Regions from separate parts of the Homo sapiens genome. Here regions 2, 3, 4, 5, 6 and 7 are each linked to region 1. The links are contacts of gene promoters, found by promoter capture Hi-C in blood cells and fetal thymus (Javierre and others, 2016). All regions are on one chromosome and are shown on one strand. Each heading gives the region's core, a stretch centred on a gene start or on the middle of the fragment in contact. The rest is flanking DNA. Distances are from core to core; before and after follow the strand shown. Region 1 holds the start of SMARCAD1 (SNF2 related chromatin remodeling ATPase with DExD box 1). Region 2 holds the start of PPM1K (protein phosphatase, Mg2+/Mn2+ dependent 1K). Region 3 holds the start of H2AZ1-DT (H2AZ1 divergent transcript). Region 4 overlaps DNAJB14 (DnaJ heat shock protein family (Hsp40) member B14). Region 5 overlaps DAPP1 (dual adaptor of phosphotyrosine and 3-phosphoinositides 1). Region 6 overlaps DAPP1 (dual adaptor of phosphotyrosine and 3-phosphoinositides 1). Region 7 overlaps MTTP (microsomal triglyceride transfer protein).

Region 1 (3,719 bases), core at 637-3,136:
TAAATTCAAAACTACTTAGACAAAGCCTTTGTAAATCTGACTCCTAATCCAATCTACCAAATCATTCTGCCAATTTCCAATTACACCAAAGTATTTAAAAATGTTATTCTAATGATAACTTGCAGAGGATCTGCCATCATTATTACATTTAAGTAGAAGGGTGGCAAACAAAAAGATACCAAGGATAAACATGTGTGTTACCAATCTTTCAGGCTACATTAAGTTAAAAGCTGTTTACGAAACAGAGTTTTGCATAAAAAAAGATATTACTGAAATAAATATTAAAATATAACTTCCAACATTCCTTTCACCTTTCCTAAGAAACTAACTAATTAGTTTATGCTCAGGAATCATACTGCCAGGACTTGAGTTCAGGCTCTACCAAGTTCCTAATAACCTCTCTGAATCTCATTTCACATTAACCTCTATGTCAGTAATATCTACCTTGTAGGATTATTGTGCAAATTAAATGACAGAAGGTGAAGCACTTATCACTATTCCTATAATACAACAAGAGCTCAAATATATTCCTCTAATAGTTAACTGTTCAATGAACATAGATTCGAGTGGAAATCTTAATTTTTGGCTTATCCTCAAATACTTTTGTCTCTGACAATCTGCTGATGAGGTTAAAAATGTTCATTCACCATGAAGAATACCAATTACTCATTTGCATTCTGAGGACATCCAGGAAGTCAGGTGGATGCAAGAACTTGATGTGATCTGATCTTCCCTTGTGTACAGAGGTTGTCTTTAGGCACCTTGCTCAATGTCTAGCTCACAGTAGATGATCAATATTTTGAGGGAATACTGGAATGAATGAAAATGTCTGCCCAAATAGCCTCAAAGTTTATCATAGGACTGAATCACTGACATCGCTCTTCCAATAGCAACCGTTCTGACCTATGGATGCCCTAAATTCTAATTTCAACTTCCACCATGGGGCCATATTCGAAGAACTCATATAAAAGTGAGGCGACAATGGATGGATGCTCAGTTGAGGGTACATGGTGCTTATGGCAGTCCCAAAGCTGTATTTAAAAGGGCACACCGCAGGACAATGCATCAATATATATGACATCAAGAATAAAAATGAGAATCCCTTCTGCCTTTCATCTTTTAAAAACTGTCCTTGATGTTACATCAATTTTAACATTGTAACTCACCTGTTTTTTCAGTTATATCTGAATCAGGAGTGTTTGCCCTGCTAACTTCCCCTTCAGCATTCTCCTCTTCAGCACTAAGAGAAATTGGTGAAGAAGGGCCAGGCTGGGAAGGTTGAGGGGTTGCTTCGGGCGCTTCCTCAATCTTATTCCTTTTCTCAAAGCGAAAACGGTCCAGGTTGAAAAGATTCATATTGGTAGAAAGCACCACCTTGCAGGGATGGGGGCTTTAAATGAACTATCTGCAGGGGAAAAATAAAGAGAGGAAAAAAGGCCATGAAAACAATATACGATACAATGCCACAGCAGTTTATTCCCAAGGCAATAAAGGGCCCGCAAACATGCCAGTGGCTCAGGACTGTTATGGCTGCGCTTCATTGTTAGGCCGCAACAATTAGAAGGTGGACGGGGGTATCTTTTAAAATTTTCCATTGCTTTTCACTCCCCTTCGTCCGCCTCCCCCGCCCGCCCCTCCTTACTGAAACCACGAGCTGACCCTCATGCAACCTCCTCTTACCCAAGCACGCGCAGGCACGTTCCCCAGTATAACCCCCTAGCGGGCCTCGCGCCCGCCCACAAAGAGAAGCTCCCTGTGCTACCGTGCCCCCTGCCTCGAGAAAGGACCTGCCAGGGCCCGCGCCTCGACACTGCGGGGACACAAAGGGGCCAAAGAAGGGGAGCGGCGGAGGCCGTGCTGGCGGGCATCCGCCCGGAAGTTGACGCGGCGCGATCCCAGCTGAGAGGAAGCTGATAGGATTAAGAACACACAGGAAGGTTCAGAGGTGGAGTGCATGCTAAGGCATCTTTTTAACGTTCAATCGCTCGCTTGTTCTTTCTTCCCTCAGTACTTACGATCTTGTAGCCTCAGTGCTATGTAACAAAGGTTGAAAATAAAAAAAAAATTTCCTAGCGTGGGGCGACGGTAGCCGTGCCGGGACCTTCCAAAACACCACGGAGAAACCTTAAGAGCGCGTAATGATGACGCAACACGCAGCCTAGGCTTTTTCTTCCCAAACAACGCGCGAGCCGACAATGTCGAGGCGCGCGCTGTTGTCATGGTAATTCGTACCCGTCTCCGCCGGCTTGTAAGGGCCAGATTGTTCTGTACCTTTGTCCTGTTAAATTATCTAGAGAGTTATTAAATAGAACAATAGTAAATAGCATAATGACAAAAAATAACAATATATAATACAATTAGTATATATTGTATGTATTATAATCTGTAGTGTTTCACCTATAATATAATGTAGATAGCATAATAGTAATAATACTGTGCTAAGCTTTTTCAGTGTATAATCCCAATCCTTACAAGAAGCCTATGTTTACAAAGCAAAGAAACTGAGACCTGCAAATGTATAGGTAATTAGTGACGGATAAGAACCCCGGGATGCTGAGCTTCAAAGCATTTAAAGTAATTCCTCACTTTCGGCTTGATTGTTCTTAGAATGGAATTTGATTAATTAATTAATTTTTTAAAAATATTTTAATTTTTAATGTTTGCGGGTACATAGTAGGTGTACATATTTATAGGGTACATGAGATATTTTGATACAGGCATGCAATGTGTAATAATCATATCAGGGTAAGTGGGGTATCCATAACAAGCATTTATCCTTTGTGTTTCAAACAATCCAGTTATTTTAGTCATTTAAAAATGTACAATAAGCTGGGAGTGGTGGCTCACGCCTGTAATCCCAGCACTTTGGGGGGCTGAGGCAGGTGAATCACAAGGTCAGGAGTTTGAGACCAGCCTAGCCAACATGGTGAAACTCCGTCTCTGCTAAATATACAAAAAATTAGCCGGGCGTAGTGGCGGGCGCCTGTAATCTCAGCTAATCGGGAGGCTGAGGCAGGAGAATAGCTTGAACCTGGGATGCGGAGGTTGCAGTTAGCCGAGATCACTCCACTGCACTCCACCCTGGGCAACAAAGCAAGACTCTTGTCTCAAAAAAAAAAGTACAATAAATTGTTGTTGACTGTAGTCATGCTATTGTGCTATCAAATACTAGATCTTATTCATTCAAACTGTATTTTCGTACCCATTAACCATGCTCACCGACCACCGGGGTCCTCCCCCGCCCCACACTACCCTTCCCAGCCTCTGGTAGCCATCGTTCTACCGTTTCTCATACGTTCAATTGTTTTAATTTTTTAGCTCCCACAAATATAATAAATGAGAACATACCAAGTTTTTTTTCTGTGCCTGCCTTATTTCCTTTAATATAATGACCTCCAGTTCCATCCATGTTGCAAATGACAGGATCTCATTTTTTTTAATGGCGAAATAATACTCCACTGTGTATATGCACCACATTTTTCTTATTCATTCACCTGTTAATGGACACTTAAGTTGCTTCCAAATCTTGGCTGTTGTGAATAGTGCTGCAACAAACATGAGAATGCAGATATCATTTCGATACACTGATTTCCTTTCTTTTGCATATAATTCACCTATCTTGATGGAAATGTTAGCTTAAGAATATATACTCCTGGCCGGGCGCAGTGGCTCACGCCTGTAATCCCAGCACTTTGGGAGGTGGAGGCGGGCGGATCATG
Region 2 (3,719 bases), core at 770-3,269, 5.9 Mb after region 1:
TACTTTATGGCTTTATATATAACAAGTATAAAGATAGGCAAAACTACCTATGCTGTTGAAAGTCAGCATAGAAACTCCCCTTGGAAGAAGGCAGTGCCTGGAAGGCAGGTTGATGGGGTTCCCAGGTATTAATAATGTTTTGTTCCTTGATCTGGGTGCTGGATACAAAGGTGTCTGCAGACTGTGAAAATTCATTGAGCTGTCTACACTTAGGATATGTGCACTTTTTAAGACACATGTTTCAATAAAATTATTATTTTTTTAAATTCCACGCCAGGTACAGTGGCTCATGCCTGTAATCCCAGCACTTTGGGAGGCTGAGGTGGGTGGATTGCTTGAGTTCAGGAGTTCAAGACCAGCCTGGGCAACATGGGGAAGCCCCATCTCTACAAAAAATATAAACATTAGCTGTGTATGGTTGAGCGTGCCTGTAGTCACAGCTACTTGGGAGGCTGAAGTGGGAGGATCACTTGAGCCTGGGAAGCAGAGGTTTCAGTGAGCTCAGATAGCGCCACTGCACTCCAGCCTGGGCAGGAGTAAAACCCTGTCTCAAAAAAAAAAAAAAAAAAAAAAAAAAAAGAAAGAAAGACAAAAGAAAAAAAAATCCAGGAAGTCTATGAAAAGACATCAACTCAACATAATATTACTCAAGGTTATTACTATAATTTGTGAGCCGTCAATATGAGAGTCACTCTCTAACCTGGTTATTAAATGCACTGGATTCAAAACAGTTGTCCCTGGCCTAGAATAACTAAAATGCCAAATCAAGTTAATTATTTATCTTTAAAATCTCTAATCTCTCTGCTCTTCTCTCCCTTCAGTGATATTGTCATAGTTTAATCAAAGTCATCTTCCACCTTAAATTTCATCTGTCATCATCTCCTAATCAGTTTCCCAATAGCTTATTTTAACTGTTCTTTGCACACTAACCAAAGTGATGTAAAGTCTAAACCCAGACCCTTTCACTTCTTTTTTTCGAATGCCTCAATAGAAGCCCATTAAATTTAAAATGTAATGCCAACTCCAAGCCCCTGTCTGCCTCATCTCTCTCACATCATGCTGTTCTTTCCCTCCCTCAATATGCTGGAGACACTTTGGCTTTCTTTCTGTTCTTCCAAAACGCCGGGCTGTCTCACCGAGAGACCTTTGTCTGCTGTCCCCTCTGCCCAAAACAATTCATCATTTTATTGGTTCCATGGCTGAATGACTGATGGTTTAAATGCCATCTTATAAAGTTCTCATATAACAATCTTATCTGAAGTTATCCTCCAGTGTCCACACCATGCCTATTTCTTTCCTTGACATGATTAATTACTATTCTATGTGCTTGCTTACTTGTTGGTTTTCTCCCTCTTCTTTGTTAGACTGAAAATTCTATGAGGGCAGCTATCGTGTCTAGCTGTGTTAGGGGCGTATCCCCAGTGCCTAGCAAATGTATAGCATACAAGACGTCCTTCAATAAACACAGAAATACTTGTTTAATGAATTAATAGACATTCCCTAAAGATCACAAGATACCTGTTCAGCCACGAAGAAGACTGCACTGTGCACTGCTGTTCAAAGACATGGCAGTGAAATCAGATGCCTTTCAAACTCTAAGCCTAAGCAGTATTGGCATTCCGTTCTCGGTTTCCTGGCTGTCACAACTACAGTCCCTTAGCCCGAAGCGAAACCCCCTCCGCGCTCCGCCCGCTGGCTAGGTACCAAGTCTCGCGGCCCCACCCACCGCGCAAGCGCGCCCCCTCTTTGGCTGGGGAGCTAACCTCGGGAGGGCGGGGCGCCGCCGCGAGCCACCACTGGCACAGGGTGACGTCGCTCCGCCGCGCAGCTGGAAGCCTGCGAAGTCAAATAGCAGCCGCGGGGAGGCTCGTTCCCATCGGCATCTGTGACTGGCTGCGATCGAGGGCCCGGGCGGCCGGCCAGCCGTCTCGCCGAGTGCGGACTGGCCGGATCTGCTGTCAGTCAGCGGGAACAGACTTCTCCCTCTCCATCTGGTCAACTGCGGGAGAAAAATTTTCGAGAATTTCCAGCAGGCAAGGCAGTGGCCGCTTTGACTGCTTGCTTCGGAGATCCGAGACGACGGAGAAGGCACTCTTATTTACCGACCAAGAAAGCTCCTCCCCCGTCCTCCGTTAGCTAATTAAAACATTTTTCAGGGACGTAGCCATCCAGAGGTAAGAGCCTAGAGAGTGCAATTCATTTATTTCTGCTAACCATGTATGCTGTTCTTTATTGGCGGTCGCGGAATGGAGAGTAAACGGAGAAGGGTTTCCCGGGAGGTCGAAGGGGAGACGTCGGTTTCCGTTCCCCCGCCCCCCGAGTCGGCGCTTGGCCGGCGGCCTCTCGGAGTTCTCAGAGCGTCGCTTTCTTCCCTTTGGAGGTCGTGAGCAGCTCGTCGGGGTGAGGCGGGGCCCAGCTGGGCTGCCTGCGCCCCGGGCGGCGGGTTTCCAGCCCAGACTGCGCTCGGCCTTGAATGTGGCCGCAGGCTGGAGGGCCAGCGCGGCGCGAGGCGGGCAGGGTGGGTGGGCTGGGACTGGAGACCCTTGCCCGAGGCCCCGGAAGCGAGGATGCTGCGGGGTGGGTGCCGCGTTGCCTCCCGGGCGAGGGAAACGTGGCGACAACGGGCTCGGTACGCCCAGAGGGAGGTTGGGAGGCGGAGACCTGGCGGCAGAAGGTGCCGAGGGAGCCCAGCTATTTGCGAGGCTTCGCAGGCAGGCGGGCGTGTGTTCTTCCCACCGTGTGTCACCCTGACCACCCGCCTGTCAGGGCCAGCGAGCCGAGGCCAGGATCCTGAGCTGTACCCAGGTGAGCTTTTCAGGAGGTCCGGCATCGTGAAGGATGCACAGCCCCGGCTGGTTTTGATCCGAAGACTTGGGTTTTACTTTGCGCAGGGAGCGCTGTAGTACTCAAGGCGTTGTAGCTGGTGATGTCTTTTTCAGCAGCCGCTTTCTGTAGATGAGGGAATTCACCGGATGTGACAAAGAGGCTCCAGGTGGAAATAGCCAGGGAATTTGCAGTCTCAAAAGCTCCACGGGCTTTTCTGAGCCTCCCACTGCTAACGTGCAGCAAGGCCTCATCGGTTCTTTCCGTCAGGGCGGAGGAATGAGGCTGTCCTTCGGTTTCAGAATGAGCGACTAAAGTGACAGATTACAATGACGATGAAAAAGAGCAATGAGACCGGTAGCAATGGCTCACGCCTGTGATCACAGCACTTTGGAAGGCCAAAGCGGGCTTGAGCCCAGGAGTTCGAGACCAGCCTGGGCAACACATCGAAACCTCGGCTCTACAAAACATACAAAAATTACCCGGGCGTGGTGGCATGTGCCTGTGGTCCCAGCCCCGGAGGCTGAGGTGGGAGGATCTCTTGATCCTGAGTGGTCGAGGCTGCAGTGAGCCGAGATCGCACCACTGCACTCCAGCCTGGGCGACAGAGCAAGACCCTGTCTCAGAAAGAAAAAGAAAAACAGCCATGGTTTGTGGTGTTCTGGTTAGGCAGCTGTGGCAGGAAGAAGAGCAGCACGTGCGTGTGTGTGTGTCTGATAAAATACCTTAGTTACAATATTTGAGTAGTGAGTTCTCGCTAATAATTTTTTCTTGCAACCTTAGTCATTACTACTGATCACCCAGGCAAATTCCTTGACTGCAATCCTTAGAGACGAGGAAAGAAGAGAGGAGAGTGGCTGGTGACATAATAGACTGTGAAGGAAAGTTCTTAAAGG
Region 3 (3,719 bases), core at 472-2,971, 5.7 Mb before region 1:
AATTTTAAAACAATAAATTTCCAAAAATTCTGAGGACTAATGTATGGAAAAAGTAAATTAGTGCTATATTAAAAGCATGATCTTTTGTTTTCCTGAAATGGCAGTGGATCTGGGTGGAGTAGATTCTGCTGATCTTTGTCATCTATTCCCTGCATTTGTGAATTGTTACCTGTGTGCAATCTGTGATCATGAGAAGTGCAAAGCTGGGCAATTTGGAATTTAAATCGATGGCTTTGGTTTTATCAACACTGAATTAAACACATAGGCTTCTCAACCTAAACAGAATTCAGGAAGGACTATGGCCTCGGTGCCAAAAATATTATTACATCACTCTACATATTCTTCGCACTTAACGAAACTCTTTCACAATTCTATCAAGTTGGTTTATCTGGTGTTACGAATCCCTATTTAATAAATGAAACTGTGCCTCAGTGTTTTACATACTTCAGGCCATATAGCAAGTAAGTGGCTACCCAAACTCAACCCTCATTCTTTTACTCTAGTTCAATATTTTGCATAATACCACACTGGAACTCAGTTATTCACAGCTGTGTGAATCCTTGAAGGCACATATTTTTCCTAGGTGCCCTAGGTAGAGAGAACCAAGATTCTAATGTAGATTTCCTGATGAAAAGAATTTTGCCGCCATTATCGATCTAGGCTAATATCCTTGGAAATAACTTGAGAACTTATTCATATTTTCTTAAAAATACGTTTTTAAGGCAAGATGTAGTTGAGAAATTTATAATTCCCAATTGTAAGACTCTCAAATTCTCTACATAAAAAGACAAGAACAATAGTAGTTAACATACATGCTAGTGTTTCAAAGGAGATAGCAACTAGTCATGGAAAATCTGGCTTAGTTAGGAAAAGGCTATTAAGGAAAGTGTCAATAATAGTGGGTTCGCCTACCTCATCTGAGGATTTTTTGTTGTTTTTTCGAGACAGGATCTCAGTTTATCACACAGGCTGGAATTCAGTGGCACAATCATGGCTCACTGCAACCATGGGCTCAAGTGGTCCTTCCACCTCAGCCTCCCGAGTAGATGGGACCACAGGCAGGGGCCACCATGCCTTGCTAATTTTTGTATTTTTAGTAGAGATGGGGTCTCGCTATGTTGCCCAGCCTGGTCTTTAACACCTGGGCTGAAGTGATCCTCTTGCCTTGGCATCTCATATTTTTTTATGGTGAGAGAACTAATTGGGTATGGCATTAAACAAAAGTAATTACATAGCTCTGGCTAAGTACATTATATACATGCATTACTATTAACACAGGAACTGGAAAGATAAACCAACAATATTAACATATTTGCATCATACCTTTTCTGGGGGGGGCAGGAAAAAGAGTAGGAAATCATCATACCACTCTGAGAAAAGTGCAGAAAGTAATACTGTCCTGTTCTCTGAAGGAAAATTATTGAGTTATTAAACCAATTTTGGATTTTAGTTTGGATGTTGGAAGACTTGGTTGTGTATACTTTGGGCAGGTTTCAAGCTTGCTGCTTCCAAATCGAAGAAAGAAAATAAACCAAATAGCAAAAAAGATTTAGAAATAAAAGATACTTTATTTCATCCCTCTCCAGCATCCAATGTAGAAAATAATAGCAGTTATTTACTGAGGGCTAACTACGTGCCAAACACATGCTACTATGTACATTGCATACCTTTTTCCTTAATCTTTCAACCATGTGAAAATAGATGATACTATCTTTTCACAGAATAGGAACTCGAAGCTCAGAAAGATTAGTAACTAAGATGACACAGTGAGGAGGAGGCAGAACAGAATCCATCTGTACTTGCTTCTGAGTTCATCCTCCTAACCACTATTCAGCGAGGCAACAGTAAATTCCCTTTATGGGGCTTCATAGCAAAGAGCTGGCAGAGTATTATCTAAACTAGAGATGGCATTAATGTTGGTTTTTTATATATCACAAAGCTTCCCTGGAGCCATCGTTAACTATCAGGTTTCATAGCTTAATATATCATTATTATATTATCAGTAGGAAAACGGCTGAAGTCTTGCTATCGACGACATCATAAGAGTTCCTTGGTTCCAAGAAATAATAAACCTCAATGTCAAAATTGTTGGGAAGCTCTTCTCTAGAATTTATCTCACAGAAATTGGGAGGTCCTCTAATTCGATAAAATCTTTCAAATTGAAACCCAATCTAAAGTACTTCAGAGTATATGTTTGTTGTTGTTGTTGTTGAGAAAGTCTCGCTCTGTTCCCCAGGCTGAGTGCAGTGGCGCAATCTTGACTCACCACAACCGCCGCCTCCCGGGTTCAAGCAATTCTCCTGCCTCAGCCTCCAGAGTAGCTGGGATTACAGGCGGGCGCCACCATGCCTGGCTAATTTTTGTATTTTTAGTAGAGATGGGGTGTCACCATGTTGGCCAGGCTGGTCTTGAACTCCTGACCTCGTAATCTGCCCGCTTCGGCCTCCCAAAGTGCTGGGATTACAGGTGTGAGCCACCATGCCCAGCATAGAGTATATGTTTCAAAATGTTCGTCACATTGAAACTATTCAATTATGTTAAAAAATGTAATACACTAAAACACTGCAAATGAGATTGAGACACTACTGTCCCCAAGCAGCTGGAGATGTACATAGGTGTTAATAACCTACTAGTTGGAAGGATAGTACTGTGTGTACAGTACCATTACTTTAACCTCATCATTTGCAACTGATTGCATTGCATGGACCCTCTAACTGCCTGAAAATCATGTCAGAGTTACTCCATCGACATTTGCCGAACATTTGTCATGTGGCAAAATACTTACTGTAGAAAAGTTGACACATAATAGCTCTGAGGTTTCACTAAATGAGCTTTACACACCAGGCTACAGGTACAACCCATTGATGTGTAGTCTCCAAAAAATATGGTTTATGATTTGATTAAAGAATACTGCCTCGCCAGAAGCTCCCTAAGTATAGACAAAAAGGGTTTCGTGACCAGTGAGGTGACTTGGCTTCACCGTTTGCTGTCACAGAACTATTCCGTGGAGGATTTCATAAGTAGTGAGGGAGAGGTGGAAGACCCGGCTGAAAATAAAGTGGGAGCAGCGGGTCGTGATCTGTTGGTGGCTGGGGACTCGCCTAGACGGAAGAAACACGGAATCTCTACTAAGGCTGTGGAAGGCGTCAGGGCAAACCTCAGACTCCTCTCACTGGACGCGTTCGCGCCACCTGTCAGACGGGAGGAGCCGCCAGGGATTGAGAGGGTAGGGAAGGGGTGTCCGGGGCCCCGGAAAGCGGCTGCGGGTCGCAGGTCTCCGCCCGAGAGGCGCTGGGAATGGGGCTGGGAGTGGTGGGGGCGGCGTGCTACATACCGAGGAGACTTCACGTGGTCTCTAGAGCCCTGCTAGGGGACCCGGGACGCTACCGCGCGCCCCTCCCCTGAGGTCTCAGCTCCTCCTCCCAGGCACGTGATCGCAGCCGGCTGGTAACTGCGCTCCTGCAGCGTAGCTCGCTCTGTTTCTTCCCTCCCGCCGCGGTGCCCTTCTTCTCCCCCGTTCCCATCCCTCCGCCTTCCCCCGCCTCTCCCCCCACGCCCCAATCGCGGCTTGAGATTAGAAGCGCCCGCCCCTCCACCCTTTTCTTCGCTTGCTCATTGGCTGAAGTCTCAAGGACGCGTCCCGAGGGCGGGTGGCAGCCATTGGTGGGATGAGCAATCCGAGTTCCCGGATGAGGGAACATTCTGCAGTATAAAGGGAG
Region 4 (3,719 bases), core at 401-2,900, 5.7 Mb before region 1:
TAACCACCAAAACAATGGCAGATTTAATTTCCATAGAGGTTGTGAAGCTGATATAACTCCAGAAGACTTGTTTAATATATTTTTTGGGGGTGGATTTCCTTCAGGTATTTTAATGTAATTATAGATATTATATTTTATGAAGCTACATAGTCTTACCTCCAGTTAACGTTATTTAGAGATGTATCTACCTTTTCCCCTACATTTCTTGTAGTGTTACGATCCTGTAATGGTTTTTCATGAAAGCAGGAGAAAAATATTAGGGTTATTACTTTTATAATAGCCTGCCTTTTTCCTAGAACATATTTTAATTTAAAAAAATGAAGAGTACAGATATTCTGTATTTTATATAAAGCTGAAAGGGAATGTAAGCAGGAAATGTAATGGCAATGTCTTAGGTAAGTACTATTATAATTATGAATGGTTTTCTTTACTTAAACCTGGATAACTATTTGACATTGCTTCCCTAGAGATCTTTGTAAATATTTTATCAATAACATTATAGTTGGCTAATTTGGATATATGTAGAGGTACTCATCTCTATTTCCATTTAAACAGTAGAAAATCTGATTCATAGGTTATATACAAAGTAAGTGGATTTTTAAGTTTACATTAAAATAGAAATAGCTAACTTTAACTAGACTATCAAAGTGAAATATTGTAGTGATACTAAGATTTTATAGTACCAACATAAATAGTATCAAACTCCACTTACATTTACAGTAAGTGGTCACTTAACATAAGGTTTTTGGAAACTGTGACTGTAAGTGAAACAATGTTCTGTATAACAACTAATTTTACCGCAGGCTAATTGATATAAACAACAGTTAAATTGCTAAGGCATATAGTACATCATGTTTACTTGAAGTTGCAGTTTCCAAGGACCTCTTGATGACGTTAAGTGAGGACTTACTGTACTGTGAGTTGTTATTGTGGAAATCTATTTTCCTTGAATGTAGCTCCTCTAAGGTACTTAAAATTATAGCTTTAGTCTTGTTTACAAAATTTACTTCAGGTGCTGAAGTAAATCCCATTCAACATTAAGAGAATCTTCATGAATGTAGCAGTATAATTGGACCTGGTGGCCCTCTCTGAATATTATTGAGAAAGGTTGTGGTCATTTCTTTCTATTTTTTAATAGAGACAGGGTCTTGCTCTGTTGCCCAGGCTGGAGTACACTGGGGCAATCATAGCTCAGTGCAGCCTCAAAATCCTAGGCTCTACCAATCCTCCCATCTCAGCCTCCCAAGTTGCTGGTACTACTGACATGTACCACATGTCTGGCTAATTTTTTTAAAACTTTTTTGTAGAGACAGGGTCTTGCTATGTTGTCCAGGCTGGTCTTGAACTCCCAGCCTCAAGCAATCCTCCCACCTTAGCCTCCCAAATCCTGTGCTGGGATTACAGAGGTGAGCCACCATGCCTGGCAAGGTTGTGGTCATTGATAGGACGTTTTGCAAAGCATCCTTGAAGGAAAGAGGATATATAAATGCAAATTAATGACTGAAAATATAACCTGTGTTTTGACATGTTAGAATACATAATTACAGAAAAATTATTAAAACTAGTAATTTTGACTGGAAGTATACTAGGAACAATCAGAAATCTTTCAGGCAGTAGTAAATTTTCTTCTGATACTTGATTTGCAGTTATTTTGCTAGTTATAACATAGTTTGTCAATGGTAGCCATTTCTGATTGGTCATCTTATATGAAAACAACTTGAATGTTTATCAGCAAGAGAGTGTTTGAATAAATTCTGGTCCATCTATACCAAGATATATTATAGGGCTATTTTTTAAAAATGAATTTGAACACTATCTTTTGATTTCTAGAGATGTTTATGATTCATTGATAAATGCAAAAAGCAAAGTTTCAAAGTAATAATCCAACATTTATAAAAACAACTAATCACAACTAATCATAAACAAAAGAGGTTTATAAAAACCTCTATGTGTGTAGAGAAACTCTTAGTCAAGTTTTCATAAAGAAGGAACTTCTACCTGTAACGGAAGCAGATTGGGAAGAATCATTCCTATTTCTGTCCACCCTTCACTTACAAGAGGAGAGGGCAATAAGTATTTACTACTGAAAATACACATGCATTATTTTAGTAATTTTTTAAAATTAAAGAAAAATGTGAAAGAAAATGTATTTTTTCTGATCATAATTGCTCTCCCTAATTTAACCTTGCTTTTAATTTTTTAGGTAGTGTACATTCTTTTTCAAATGGAAGAGCTGGTTATAGCCAACAACATCAGCATCGACATAGTGGACATGAAAGAGAAGAGGAAAGAGGAGATGTACGTTTATGACTAGAAATCACAAAATGGCAAATTTCAGCTCAGGAAAAGTAATTAGAGTTGTCTGAAAAGAGGGCAAGTAGTTGTAGGAAATAATGAGTTTTCTCTTACTAGAGGTGTTTGGTAGAGACTAGAAAATCCTTAGGGACATTGTAGGAATAGGAAGAGAGGTCAGCCAGGGGTGGTTGGATAGTATGACCCCTTTAGATTTGTTATTCTATGATTCTAATGAAGGTACACCTGCACTATGCATGTTGTGAAGGTAACTTGTTATTGTTGGCCCTGAAGAATTTAGAGTACTGAAAAACTTGAATTGGAGGTAACTTTCCTTGTTCTAATGCAGTTATACCTAATTGCCTATAGCAATTTAATTACATGAAGTGGAAAGGTAAATGGAAAGAGCACTAGACTAGAAATTAAAAGGCCTGGCCCCCAGCTTTGCCACTCATCAGCTCCCATCTTCTACCCTCAAATCCAAGGTAAAAAATGGTTTTACAGCCTGCAGCATATTGATAGCGTCTCTGTGTGTGGGGGGGAGGGAGTCGGGAAAGAGAAAGAGAAAGAAATGAAGACTTCCTCATCTATAAAATGAAATCAAATTTTATCAGTGTTTTTCAAATCAGAATCTCCTGGTGATATGCCTGGATAATTATATTTAAGAATCATCCTATTGGCATGGTTACGCAGATTTGAAAGCACTGAACTAGATGATCTCAAATGCGCTTTCTGCCTCAAAATGTATGACAACTGTTGTATTATTAACAACTACAGTTATATTACAATTTGTTATTCTTTGATCATTTTTTATAGGGAGGTTTTTCTGTGTTTATCCAGCTGATGCCCATAATTGTATTGATCCTCGTGTCATTATTAAGCCAGTTGATGGTCTCTAATCCTCCTTATTCCTTATATCCCAGATCGTAAGTAGCCAAGTGAAGTTTTACAAAAAATGAATTGTTGCTATTTCTGACCTAGCTTCCTTTAAAGAGCTTGTGCTCTTTTAAACTTTTAAGTGCCAAATCTATTACTGCAAGTGTACCAGATTTTAAATTTCTATCTAATTTTTTAAAATAGTTACTTTAAGTAATAAATTTGTCTTATGTTGTTAATTTACATTTCTATTCTTCCACTGTGGATAAGGACAGAAATGCTATATTTGAACTTGATAACAATTTAATGTGGTAGGTAATGTGTTGACATTAAAGGCAAAAAATACTCTAAAGGACAAAACTAAAGACAGAGCAATGATTGATGTTACATAGATTTATATCATTAAGGGGAAAATGACTTTACTCTTCATTTTGCAAAATATCGATTAAATAAAAGCAAATATTACTTTTTTATGATGTATTTTTTTCACCATATACTTTATGTGTAAGAGGTCAGGACATAAAGGAAATTTAATACAGCATGCAATCTAG
Region 5 (3,719 bases), core at 321-2,820, 5.7 Mb before region 1:
CTTAAATGAAGTCAGTAGCCAACACAGTTCAGGTGAAGCAAGGCAGGCATTGATGTGTGTGTGGAGGGCTTTCAAGCACCTTAGTACAGGGTGGTGGAGCCCAAGTAGGGCACAGGGAGCCTCTGTGTGGACACTGGCAGTGACAGTGGCAGCAGCAGCTGTGTGCGAGGCATTGAAGCCTGGCAGGGTGTGGAGGGCTTCTGCCTGAAGGGGTGGAGGTGGCAGCTACTGCACAGTTTCAGAGCCAAGTTGGGCTAGGTGGACATCTGTAGTGAGGGTGGGAGCAGCAGTGGCCTGGAACTGAGCATTGAAGCATGACTGGGTGGTTGGAGTGTCGGGGTAAGGGTTGAGTAGTAGAAACAGCAATGGGAGATTGCTTATATTCAATTGATCACCACATAAGTGTACTGAGGATGATAAGATCCATATTTTCTCACTGTGGGAGAAGGGAAAACACTAGAATGAACTTTGTGGTATTGGAAGCATTGTTGTGAACTCATGGATCGATGAATGAATCGACAGATAAATACAGATGTAAAAGTATATATGTGTACATATGTATATACATACATATTTTCCCAGCTCTGCTCACTGAGTGGGCTGGGAGAGTGACATCCTGATAACAATAAGCACATAGTACCTAGATGTCGATTTCTAGAGTACTATTCTGTGGAAAAAGAGCAGAGTTTCTTGGAGAAATAGCTGGTTCTAGAGCTGGGTACAAAGAAAGAACAAGATAAGTCTGGATCATCTTGCTATTCAGAAAGTAAGAAAGTTCTTAAAAGAATTTTGAGGCCAGGCCAGGCACGGAGGCTCACAACTATAATCCCAGCACTTTGGGAGGCTGAAGCATGAGCATTGCTTGCACCCAGGAGTTCGATACCAGCCTGGTTAAAATGGTGAAACCTTGACTCTACAAAAAAAAATAAAAAAATGAAAATACAAATATTAGCCAGGAGTGGTGGTACACACCTGTAGTCCCTGCTACTCAGGAGGCTGAGGAGGGAGAGTCACCTGAACCCAGGAGGTCGAGGCTTCATGAGCCGTGATCACACCACTGCACTCCAGCTTGGGAGACAGAGTGACGGAGTGACACACTGTCTCCAAAAAAAAAAAATTTTTTTTGAGGTCATATGAACACAGACACCACTTGAAAGGGCTCTTTCCCCGACTGGCCAAATCAGGGAAATTTTGAAGGATCAAAATAAATAATGATAGTCATGATTATAACCATTTGATATAAAAATGATTGAAAATTTTGAAGAATAAAAAGCTTTTCCTTACAGTAGAATGACAACCAATGAATGTAAAAAGGAATAAGAAAATCAGAGAGTCATCGTTTGGTAACAATCATAGTAATGATTAAAACAGCCAAGACACATCAGTAAATGCTAAAATTGGCAAGTAAAAATTTAATAAGTAACAGAATATTCTTATAGTCTCAAATAACCTCACCCCAAACATTTTTTAATAACAAAGGGAATATGGTGACTTTAGAGTGAAGAAACCTGGCAGACACCACTTAAGTAATCAAACACACCATTATGAGACAGATTGCAATTGTGTTCCATCTGAGAAGACACAGTGAGAAGCACAAACAAAGCATCACTTTTGTGGTATTTGTAGCCAACATGAAAAAACCTGTATCTAATCATGATTCAATATCATATAAACCAAAGTTGGGAAACTATTTACAAAATAACTGGTCTTTAATTTCAGATGTGTCAAAGTCACGAAATTAAGGAAAAACTGAGGAAGTGTTCCAAAGTGAAGAATCTTCCAGAGACAGGACAGATAAGTGCAACTTGTGCTTGAGGACTGGATCTTTTACTCTGACGGAACTTACTGAGAAAACTAGTGAAGCTTGAATGAGATCTGTGGATGAAACAGTGGCACAGCCTCAATGTTAATTTTCTAGTTTGGAAGGCTCTATCTGGTCACGCAGGCAAATGCCCTTATTTTTGGAAATACACACTGAAATATTCAGGGTGATGGGGCATCATGTAGGCAATTTACTATCAAACGACTTGGGGAAAACCAAGTTCTGTGTACTATTCTAGCAATTATTCTGTAACTTTGACATTATTTCAAATAAAAAAGCATGTTAAAACATAATAGTGGATTAACTGAATAAATTGATATACTCAAATAATGGAATATTATGGAATTTGTTTAATGGTGTTCCAGAAAACTAAGTAATTACATGAAAAAAATTTTAAATATATAGTTAATTAAACAAGAATATTACAACTCTACAATGAAGAGCTCATTATTTTATGTGTGTGTGTGTGTGTGTGTGTGTGTGTGTGTGTATATACATACATATACTTTTTTTTTTCAAGTAAAAGACTGAAAGGATAAGCAACAAAATGTTAAACCTGAGAAGAGTTTCAAAAACAAAATACTGGAAAAGGGCAACGTGCAAGGAAAGTATCCAAGAAGAGGAACTATAAAATGTGTCAAAGATTACGGAATAAAGACAGAAAGATGTTGCCAAAGCTAAGGAAACAGAATTTTTAGAAGGAGGGAGTTGTTAAAAACGTCAAATACCACAAAAGGGAAGCTAAGGAAACTAACATTTTAGATAGGACCTATTATGTCAGGAACTTGAACTATATTAATCTCAATCTCTACCAAGACAACTAATTGGTATTTCTCATTTAACATGTCCAAAATAGAGCTCTTCTTTCTCATCCCCTCAACCCACCCCTCCTGCAGAGTTAGCCTTCTCAGTAAATAGCAGGGCTTCTCTGCCATGACTCTGCTACTCTTTCTTTCGTGTATCACATTCAATCCATCTGCAAGAATTTTTTTAAACAAGCTCAGAAGGTAAAGAATTCTCATGTTATGTACAAAAGGTACTACTGAGATTTTGGGCAAGATAATTCTCTACCACTCTTTGAAGAATAGTTAGCCCCTGATCACTGTTGGGAAATAATCTCCACGGGTCTCTTGTCAAGGTTCCAAATGTCTTATGAGCAAGGCATTAACAGTTCTTTGCTGCAGACTGATATTTAAAGTATGCTTATACAAGCAGCCTTGGAATAAAGAAATATTTCCCTTCAGAACAAAAGACATGTCTACTGATCATTAGAAAAGATTTGGGTTCCCAAGGCTCAGGGTTCCTCTCCTGTAGGGCAACCCATTGTGGATATCACCTGGCCCTTTCAATATTGCCCTTTGGGAACTTCGGCTCAGCACAGGGAATTAGCATAAATACTGATATCCTGGCTGTTGCTCTTCCTGTGAATAGCAAACTATTTTTCAACGCTTACCCAGAAGTCTTGTGTCATCCATCAGCATACATGAAACTGCAGCAGGCTAACTTGTTAGCTTGCAAGCAGAGTAAAGTCAGACTCTTCATGGCTCTTGACACTCACGCATGATAGTAGTGCCGCAAAGCAATGCACCAACAGAAACACTCATATTTCTAAATGCTCAGCTGGGAGGTGCTGCTCTTTGAAAACTCCATTGCCTTATGTGATCTGACCCCTCATTACCTCAATAATCTCACCTTCTACAACTTTTCCTCTAGCTCACTTCATCCCGTAATTCTGACCTTCCTAGCCTTTGAAGCACCTCAATTTTGTTTCCACTCCAGGGCCTTTGTACTGTTTCCTCTGCCTGCAGCACTCTTTCCACATCTTGACATGAGTCACTCCTTCCCTTCAGTGAAATCTCTTACTAATGGTTCCTCCTCACAGAGGCCTCCCTTGCTT
Region 6 (3,719 bases), core at 333-2,832, 5.6 Mb before region 1:
ATTTGAAGGTATGTTAGAATGGAAACTTAAGCATGTGATTAAAACTCTGTTCTTTACTTTTCTCATCTATAAATGGGGACAACATTAGTAATAATACCCACCTCACAGCAATGTGTAAATTAAACAAGTTCACATGGGCAAAGGGCTTAAACTAGTGCTTAGCACATGATAAGCATCCAATAATTACTAATTGCCATTACTAGAATACATACCTTTGACCAGTGGGCTCTACAAAGCAGCACCATGCAGTGGAAAGCTCTGGGGTAAGTTCCTAGGTGTGTCTCTCAGCTCCACTACTTACAAAGTCTGTGACCTGGATCGTATACTTAGCTTATTGAAGTCACCTTTTGCGTCTATGAAATGAGTATGGTGATATCGTATTGAAAGTGTTATTGTGAAGCCTAAATGGCATTATGCGTGTGAATGGTATGGTGCTGATGCATAGTAGGTGGTCAGTAAATTAGGACTATCACAGCAGGGAAACAACCTGGTTTGTGAAGTCAGCATGGGTTTTGAACACAGACACTCAGAGACTGTAGGCAACCTGATTTTTCTGCTCTTGAGTCTCTTCCTGTGTAAAGCTGGAATACCAGTGCCTTTCAAAGACCAGAGCTGGTGTCTACAAAATGCCTGCCTTATAATACGGACTCATTTTGTTTATTATCATTTATTCCGTGGGTCAGCAAACCACCAGCTGAGGGTTAATTCCTGTCAGACACCTGTTTTAGTATGGACTGGGAGCCAAGAATGGCTGTACATTTTGAAATGCTTGAGGGAAATAGAAAAATATTCATAAAAATTATATGAAATTCACATTTCAGTGTATAAATAACGTTTTGTTTGAACACCATCACGGTCATTTGTTTCTGTGTTCTCTGGTAGTTTTTGCACAACAGCAGATGTGAGTAGTTGAGGTAGAGACTGTAAGGCCTGCAAAGCCTAAAACATTCGTTACCCGGCCCTTTATAAAAAAAAGGTTTGCTGCTCCATGGTCTACTCTAAACTTCTCTTATATGTGACTAATTAGTTATCAATTTATTTAAATATTCAGAGCTTGGAATCTAGTTCTTTGGCACTGGCCAATCCAGCCAAACACTGGCACTTTCTTATACAACTTTCGATTTGAGAAAGTATTTAAAAAAGAGAACGTTTATTATGTTTCTCACTTGGAGTTACAACTGACTAGATCATTTGAATATTTAATTTTAAAGTATGCTAAAACACTTTCATTTTGTTATTTCTTTTGTGTTTATACATATATATAGCTATATGTAGAAATAGTATAGTAACCTTTGTTAAAGCCAAAGAATTGCTGGAATTTTCAGTAATTTAACTAGCTATTCTTTACCAGTTTGTTACTTAGGTGATATCTCCAGTATTTGTTACTTGTTTTATTTTGCCATATTTTCATTTTGCAAGCAGCAAACAGCCTGACCCATCTCCTCGTTCATGGTCCACCTCCTTCCTCTCCCCTGATTCTCCACACCCTCACTTCTTGCCCTCCCCACACCTCTCTTCCCCCTAAGCCCATACCCTCCCCTGAGAAGTGTAAGCGAAGCTGAGCAACAATTTAAGATGGTTTTATTTCTCCTTTGCTTCTGGACACATTAATGTATTTTAGATGAAAGAAAATTAATGATTTTAGGCTGACACTCTATAAATGAGACATGGAAAAGCACTGTGTTGCTTGATTTAGGTATTTTAGAAAATAATAAACCTGTACTCTGAGCAAGTTGTATATGTCCTGGAAAGGCAAGTGATGGATTTGCTGCAGTTCAGGGCTCAATTTACAGGATTTACATATTCCAGAGCCTGAAAAAAACAGAGGCCCAAGAACAAAGACTTCTGCTATTTCTGTAATTTAACCACTAACTTATCTGTTTATGTCTATCAAAAACATAAACGTAAGGATTTATCTAACTACTCAAATAACCTCTTAAAAATAATTGAAAAATTAAGTCATTAAAACCAGCTACCTTTTATCTATCCATTACATTAAATCATTTTGTTTTTAAGGAGGTCTTTGGAAACTAAATTAATCAGAAGGTTTGGTAGAGATTCTATCTCGCCAGTGGTTAAAGGTTCAAAGAAAAAGTCATTATAATGTTCGAGTTATGTTCAGTATTCTGGCAGAGGCAACAAGTCATTGTCAAGAGTTCTCAAATTGTTATCTATAAAAAATGTATCAGTGAGGTGCTGCAGGAGCAAGTACTGGCACAAGTTGATTATTAAATATTCAATTCGATGATGTTAAATTGTTGGCAGCTTGAAATTGTCTATAGTGGGAGTATTTATACCAGGGAATTAGGCAAATTCTTGAAATCAGGGCTTTCTCCACACCCCAACTCTTCCCAGCTGTTTTTCCAGCACACTGTTGAGTATGCTTAAATAAGCCATACATCTGAGGGTTCTTTTTGGGAGAACAGAAATGTCCTAAAACTGATTTATGGTGATGGTTGTATCACTCTGTAAAGTTAGTCAAAAGTATTGAATTGTACACTTGAAACGGGTATATTTTATGATATGTAAAATAACCTCAATAAAGTTGCTAATCGAAATGCCCCTAAACCAACAAACAAAATATCAACATTTATTAGTAATTTTAAGATTCAAGTACACACCCAACAGACTTAAAATGAAAAACAAGACCACATTTACCTAATGCATTTGGTAGATACATATTCTATGCAGTGATCATCAACCTAGGGTCTCACTTTGGAATTACTTGGAGAGTTTGACAAGAAAACACCCATCCCCAGAGATACTGAAATCATTTGTCAAGTCTGTGGTTTGGGTGTCAAGATGTTCCAGAGCACAGCCAAGGTCAAGAACCAGGACTGTAGAGCAGTTTTCCCAGATAACTGCAGGTTGCCCATTGCTATAGAAATCATCCTCATGTTTATTAATTGTTCACGCCTTCTGAAATAGGGAAATCTGGCCATGAATGTACCCTTTTTTTTTTGCAGGGAAGTGGTGTGACTCAGTTTTGTATTCAATGTCTATTCTTTGCACATGGAGGAAAGACACAGTCCTATTCCACCCGTGGGTTTCACCTGTAGTTGCTTCTTGCTGTTGACATCATGGTGGGGCACAGAGACAGCATCTAATTCATCTTTGTCATCTAAGTGTGTTCCCACAGTACTCAACCATAGACTCTGGGTTCTAGGATTGTTTGTTTAACTAAAGGACCAGAATTGAATATATTCCTCTATCTCCTCCTTTGGGGTTTTCTATTACAGTGGGCTGGGAATACAGTTAACAGAACATGTAAAGCATTGTAACTTAATAGTTCAATAAGACACTGAGGGCCACAGTTCAGCTTTAGCTTTTGGACTTGGTGACACCTGTGCTGGATGCTCACAGAAGGGCCTTTTACCTCTTCTGTTTGGGGATTCAATCTAGAGGGATAGAGAGATTCTAGAGCTCTGGCTTCCTAATAAGGGGAGTTTTCTTTAATGAAAATTCCAGGTGTTTTATCTGATTTGCCAAATGAAAGTAGAGTTCAATTCCGAGACCTCAGTTTTATAATCTAAAGACAGGAATTATTAATAAACTTTTACAGTAATACAACATAAAAAGATACAATCTCTGCAGCCTTAACACAGAGAGATTTCAACTCTATTTTGGTTTTTCTTTGGTTTCGGACATAGCCTGTGGTAGGTTGGATGCCCAGCTTTGCTATGTAATTGATGTGTGACTAGCAAGCAAGTTATTCAAAC
Region 7 (3,719 bases), core at 901-3,400, 5.4 Mb before region 1:
GAGAGTCAGGAAAAACCTTGAAGGGGATGAAGACTGGGATTCCCTCTTATCTCTATGTCTTCTGCATTGTAATTGGGGACTCTATAGCGGGTTCAAATACTGGCTTTCTGGTCAGGAAAAATATTTCGGTCAGGAGGCCTTCTTTTTATGACACCTATCAAATTCCACATAGGGCATAAAGGAAATACATGTTGTCTTATCTAATCCTCAGAGCAATTCTGAAAAGTAAGCATTGTGTGACAGCAGATAGAAGCTGACCCCAAGTTCAACCCAACATAGCAAATATAATGCAGATTTGATGTTTAAATTTACCAAAATCCAAGTTCTGTGGACTATATTAAGGTGTCCTCTGGTTAAAATAACTACGAAACATTTGTAGGAAGGTAACCTTTCTTAAATTCCAAAGCTTTCCAAACTATTATGTTATTCACTTCTTTTCTTACCTCTACTTTACTGGCCATATAATAAATCAATTTTTGACTATGAGTAGGAAATGTTAAAGCACAGAAAAGAATGGGCCCTTTATTCCTCCAAACTGTTTCCTACCTCTTTCAACAGGAGATAAAGCCTAAAACGGTTCAAATAAGGTGGACTGTGCTAGAGTGTCATCCTCTTATACTTTCCTTTTTGATAAGTATTTCTCTGTTTATGCTTTGCAGAGATCTGGCAACACTGGGCATTGGGGCATGTCCCATTTATATTGTTGACTTAATTCCTTTTGTAGGATAGTGCTCTTCAGAGTATGTATAGTAATATTTTTTGATAACTGTTGTTAGATAAAACCAAAACAGAAAGTAATATTAGCCAAAAAAGTCAGAATCTCTTTCATTTGCCCTTCAAGTGCATTTAGAATTTTTAAGTGACTTAAAAGCAACAAAACTGTTAGTTTTGAATCTTCAAGAAATATTTTTTAAATACTCCTTTGTCAGATTTATATGAGTACAATCACTGATAACTGGCTTAGTCAAGAAGACAAAGCAGAGCTGAGTTATTGGTGAGGTTTGAAGAGACATGCAGTGATGATAAGGGTGATAGGTAATGGCATTTATGAACCCAACAGAAAACTAAAGGGTCAGAAGTTAAAAAAGAAGATGAAGGGTAAGAAGAAAAAAGAACTGGAAGATGATTAATAAAAATTGACTAAAAAGTAAGGGTGGGGTGAGGGATTGAGAGAAAGACTGGAAATGAAGGAAGTGTACAGGTTTAAAGGTGACAAAATTAAATAGAAGGTAAAAATACTATATAAGGAAAACACAGAGAAGGCGCTGAAAATAGTCCAACCATGACAAAGTATAATTAAGAAAAAGTAGGGAAAACTTGAGTCTTTAGAAAGTTCACACAGCAAATCATATAGATGTGCTCTTTTATCCTAATCCTAATACCCTCTTCAGATTCCAATCTGCCATTCAATTTTCCTTTTTCTTTTCTTCCTTCCTTTCTTTCTTTTCTTTCTTTTTTTTTTTTTTTTTGAAACAGAGTTTCGCTCTTATTGCCCAGGCTGGAGTGCAATGGTGTGATCTCAGCTCACTGCAACCTCCACCTCCCAGTTTCACGCAATTCTCCTGCCTCAGCCTCCTGAGTAGCTGGGATTACAGGCATGCGCTACCATGCCTGGCTAATTTTGTGTTTTTAGCAGAGATGGGGTTTCTCCACGTTGGTCAGACTGGTCTCGAACTCCCAACCTCAAGTGATCTACCCACCTTGGCCTCCCAAAGCGCTGGGATTACAGGCATGAGCCACCACACCCAGCCTCAATTTTCTTTAGATTCTAACCTGCCCTTCAACATCCACCCAGATCTGAGGATTTACCAAACAGTTGCATTGGTAATTTAGAGATGAGTTTTGAGGCAATGAGGCATGGGATCCCCAAATTTTAAATGGACTGATTTTAAGGTAAACTCTTCACAAGTTGTTTGCTAATTAATGTCAGTTGTTACAAGGGCAAAGAATCTATAATTAAATCATGGTACCATAATGCAAAAAGTTATTCCATCTAGGTAAAGAAGCTCTCAAGTTGTACACTTTTAATTTATGATATCAGCATAAGCAACGTACCATGATGCTGATGAAGCTTAAGCTCTCTTGCCCAGGATCCTTCCAAAGACTCCAGAAGTGGACCCTAGCAATGTATCCACATGCCATATCTTTTTCAGTAACCTTTGCAATAGTAAGATATTTTTGTAATCTTTTCTCAAAAGTGGCCCCTAAATTATATATGTTTCAAGCTTTAAAAATCTAGATTTACTACTAAGCTTGTTTACAATAAACTGTAGCTACCTATAATATTCTAAACCACATTTTCTCATTTATGCCATTTCCCAATTATGCCATTGTCTAGTGTATGTGTATATTTAAATTTTTTTTTTTTTTTTTTTTTTTTGAGACGGAGTCTCGCTCTGTCGCCCAGGCTGGAGTGCAGTGGCGGGATCTCGGCTCACTGCAAGCTCCGCCTCCCGGGTTCACGCCATTCTCCTGCCGCAGCCTCCCAAGTAGCTGGGACTACAGGCGCCCGCCACTACGCCCGGCTAATTTTTTGTATTTTTAGTAGAGACGGGGTTTCACCGTTTTAGCCGGGATGGTCTCGATCTCCTGACCTCGTGATCCGCCCGCCTCGGCCTCCCAAAGTGCTGGGATTACAGGCGTGAGCCACCACGCCCGGCCTTAAATTTTTTATAAGTATATTTGAAAACATGAGGTCACCCAATGTTCTAGTTTATAAAATGGGAAAACAGGAGAAGCTCATGATAAGTACCATGTCTCAATTATTTTTCTCAAAATACTTATGGTATTAGGTTTGATACTATGGTATTTAAATCACACATATTTTGACTACTCAACAGTTTATTTGGCAGATGAAATAGTAAGTCCTCTATATAACACTCTCAGTCAGATATAATTTATAAATCTTCTTCTCATTAAAAAATTTCTTTTGTCCAAGTAAGAACTGTATGTTTAAATAGTAAATATTTAGAAATTGGTGAAAATATTTTCTTTAGTTCAAGAACCTACAGTGTGATTTGCTGAGGTGAATTGGTTTAAATTTAACCCTCTATTGCTCCAATAATGAAGATTAGGTTTTTTTCCTCATGTGGAAATTTTCTACACAAAAAATCCTGAGGCAAACTTTACTTTAATATCAAAAGCCACATTTATCCCTAACAGGTTTTATAAGTTTATAAGTGAATTGTTTTCTATCAATTACTTAGAGTACATGGTTTTAAAATTGGTCCCTATAACGCTATGTTGTTATATCAATTGGTTTTTAACAGTGTGTCTTCCTAAGAAACTAAAAAGTGATCATTTTACACAATGCAGCATTTGGAAAACCGATGTTTATAATGTAGCTGATCTGAAACATGATTCTATATTAATACACTTCACAACAGTTTTATGAAACCATTCCTCATAAAATGTTTTTTCACTTGCCTTTTCAATGGTATTAATTCATATGTATTTTTAAAATTAATTTCATCTTAAAATAGAAACTGTAAGTAGCAACATTATTTTTCCAAAGATAATGTCTTATTTCTTAAATCTGTATCAGGAAATTTAATTTTCTTTAATTCACTATGAATTCTATCATTTTTTAATTGTAACGGAATTAAATATATGTTGTGCCATTTCATTCATAATTCTTTGGCAAATCAAATGCCTTTTTCATTGGGTCTAATTCTTCTTGAGGTCACATTGCTAAGCAACTAAAAGAAAATTTAAGAACT

Evidence for each region. Contacts are between HindIII fragments. The CHiCAGO score rates a contact against its expected background, and 5 or more counts as called.
Region 2: a contact is called between the fragment with the promoter of PPM1K here and the fragment with the promoter of SMARCAD1 in region 1, in 2 of 17 cell types (monocytes and total B cells). The highest score is 6.0, in monocytes.
Region 3: a contact is called between a fragment that was not itself captured here and the fragment with the promoter of SMARCAD1 in region 1, in 2 of 17 cell types (non-activated CD4 T cells and total CD4 T cells). The highest score is 6.1, in non-activated CD4 T cells.
Region 4: a fragment that was not itself captured here is called in contact with the fragment with the promoter of SMARCAD1 in region 1 in 1 of 17 cell types (total CD4 T cells); the score reaches 5.5 in total CD4 T cells.
Region 5: a contact is called between a fragment that was not itself captured here and the fragment with the promoter of SMARCAD1 in region 1, in 1 of 17 cell types (total B cells). The highest score is 6.1, in total B cells.
Region 6: a fragment that was not itself captured here is called in contact with the fragment with the promoter of SMARCAD1 in region 1 in 1 of 17 cell types (total CD4 T cells); the score reaches 5.5 in total CD4 T cells.
Region 7: a contact is called between a fragment that was not itself captured here and the fragment with the promoter of SMARCAD1 in region 1, in 1 of 17 cell types (total B cells). The highest score is 6.0, in total B cells.

What each region holds. Positions count from the first base shown.
Region 1 is chr4:94,206,032-94,209,750 of GRCh38, reverse strand. It overlaps SMARCAD1 (SNF2 related chromatin remodeling ATPase with DExD box 1), which reads right to left and starts at 1,886. Exons shown (of 24, transcript NM_020159.5): 1 at 1,681-1,886; 2 at 1,167-1,405. The coding sequence starts at 1,356. SMARCAD1-DT (SMARCAD1 divergent transcript) reads left to right here and starts at 2,195. Exons shown (of 9, transcript NR_125922.1): 1 at 2,195-2,221. RefSeq lists enhancers at 1,306-1,809, 1,908-2,267. The HindIII fragment of the contact is 2,630 bases long and covers 1-2,445 here.
Region 2 is chr4:88,282,861-88,286,579 of GRCh38, reverse strand. It overlaps PPM1K (protein phosphatase, Mg2+/Mn2+ dependent 1K), which reads left to right and starts at 2,019. Exons shown (of 7, transcript NM_152542.5): 1 at 2,019-2,174. It overlaps PPM1K-DT (PPM1K divergent transcript), which reads right to left and starts at 1,650. Exons shown (of 5, transcript NR_134238.1): 1 at 1,519-1,650. RefSeq lists a silencer at 1,657-1,876 and enhancers at 1,611-2,134, 2,047-2,136, 2,177-2,236. The HindIII fragment of the contact is 7,670 bases long and covers 1-3,719 here.
Region 3 is chr4:99,950,296-99,954,014 of GRCh38, reverse strand. H2AZ1-DT (H2AZ1 divergent transcript) reads right to left here and starts at 3,521. Exons shown (of 4, transcript NR_125923.1): 1 at 3,335-3,521. RefSeq lists silencers at 3,150-3,359, 3,400-3,449 and an enhancer at 3,271-3,719. The HindIII fragment of the contact is 441 bases long and covers 1,501-1,941 here.
Region 4 is chr4:99,905,096-99,908,814 of GRCh38, reverse strand. It overlaps DNAJB14 (DnaJ heat shock protein family (Hsp40) member B14), which reads left to right. Exons shown (of 8, transcript NM_001031723.4): 4 at 1-104; 5 at 2,204-2,298; 6 at 3,109-3,218. Among named protein-coding and RNA genes, the nearest start is that of LAMTOR3, 13 kb to the right of the region's middle. The HindIII fragment of the contact is 9,420 bases long and covers 1-3,719 here.
Region 5 is chr4:99,856,295-99,860,013 of GRCh38, reverse strand. All of the region lies in intron 4 of DAPP1 (dual adaptor of phosphotyrosine and 3-phosphoinositides 1), which reads right to left. Among named protein-coding and RNA genes, the nearest start is that of LAMTOR3, 36 kb to the left of the region's middle. The HindIII fragment of the contact is 590 bases long and covers 1,276-1,865 here.
Region 6 is chr4:99,817,932-99,821,650 of GRCh38, reverse strand. The region is part of intron 1 of DAPP1 (dual adaptor of phosphotyrosine and 3-phosphoinositides 1); the gene reads right to left. Among named protein-coding and RNA genes, the nearest start is that of DAPP1, 3.0 kb to the right of the region's middle. The HindIII fragment of the contact is 5,274 bases long and covers 1-3,719 here.
Region 7 is chr4:99,575,356-99,579,074 of GRCh38, reverse strand. All of the region lies in intron 1 of MTTP (microsomal triglyceride transfer protein), which reads right to left. Among named protein-coding and RNA genes, the nearest start is that of MTTP, 2.4 kb to the right of the region's middle. The HindIII fragment of the contact is 154 bases long and covers 2,074-2,227 here.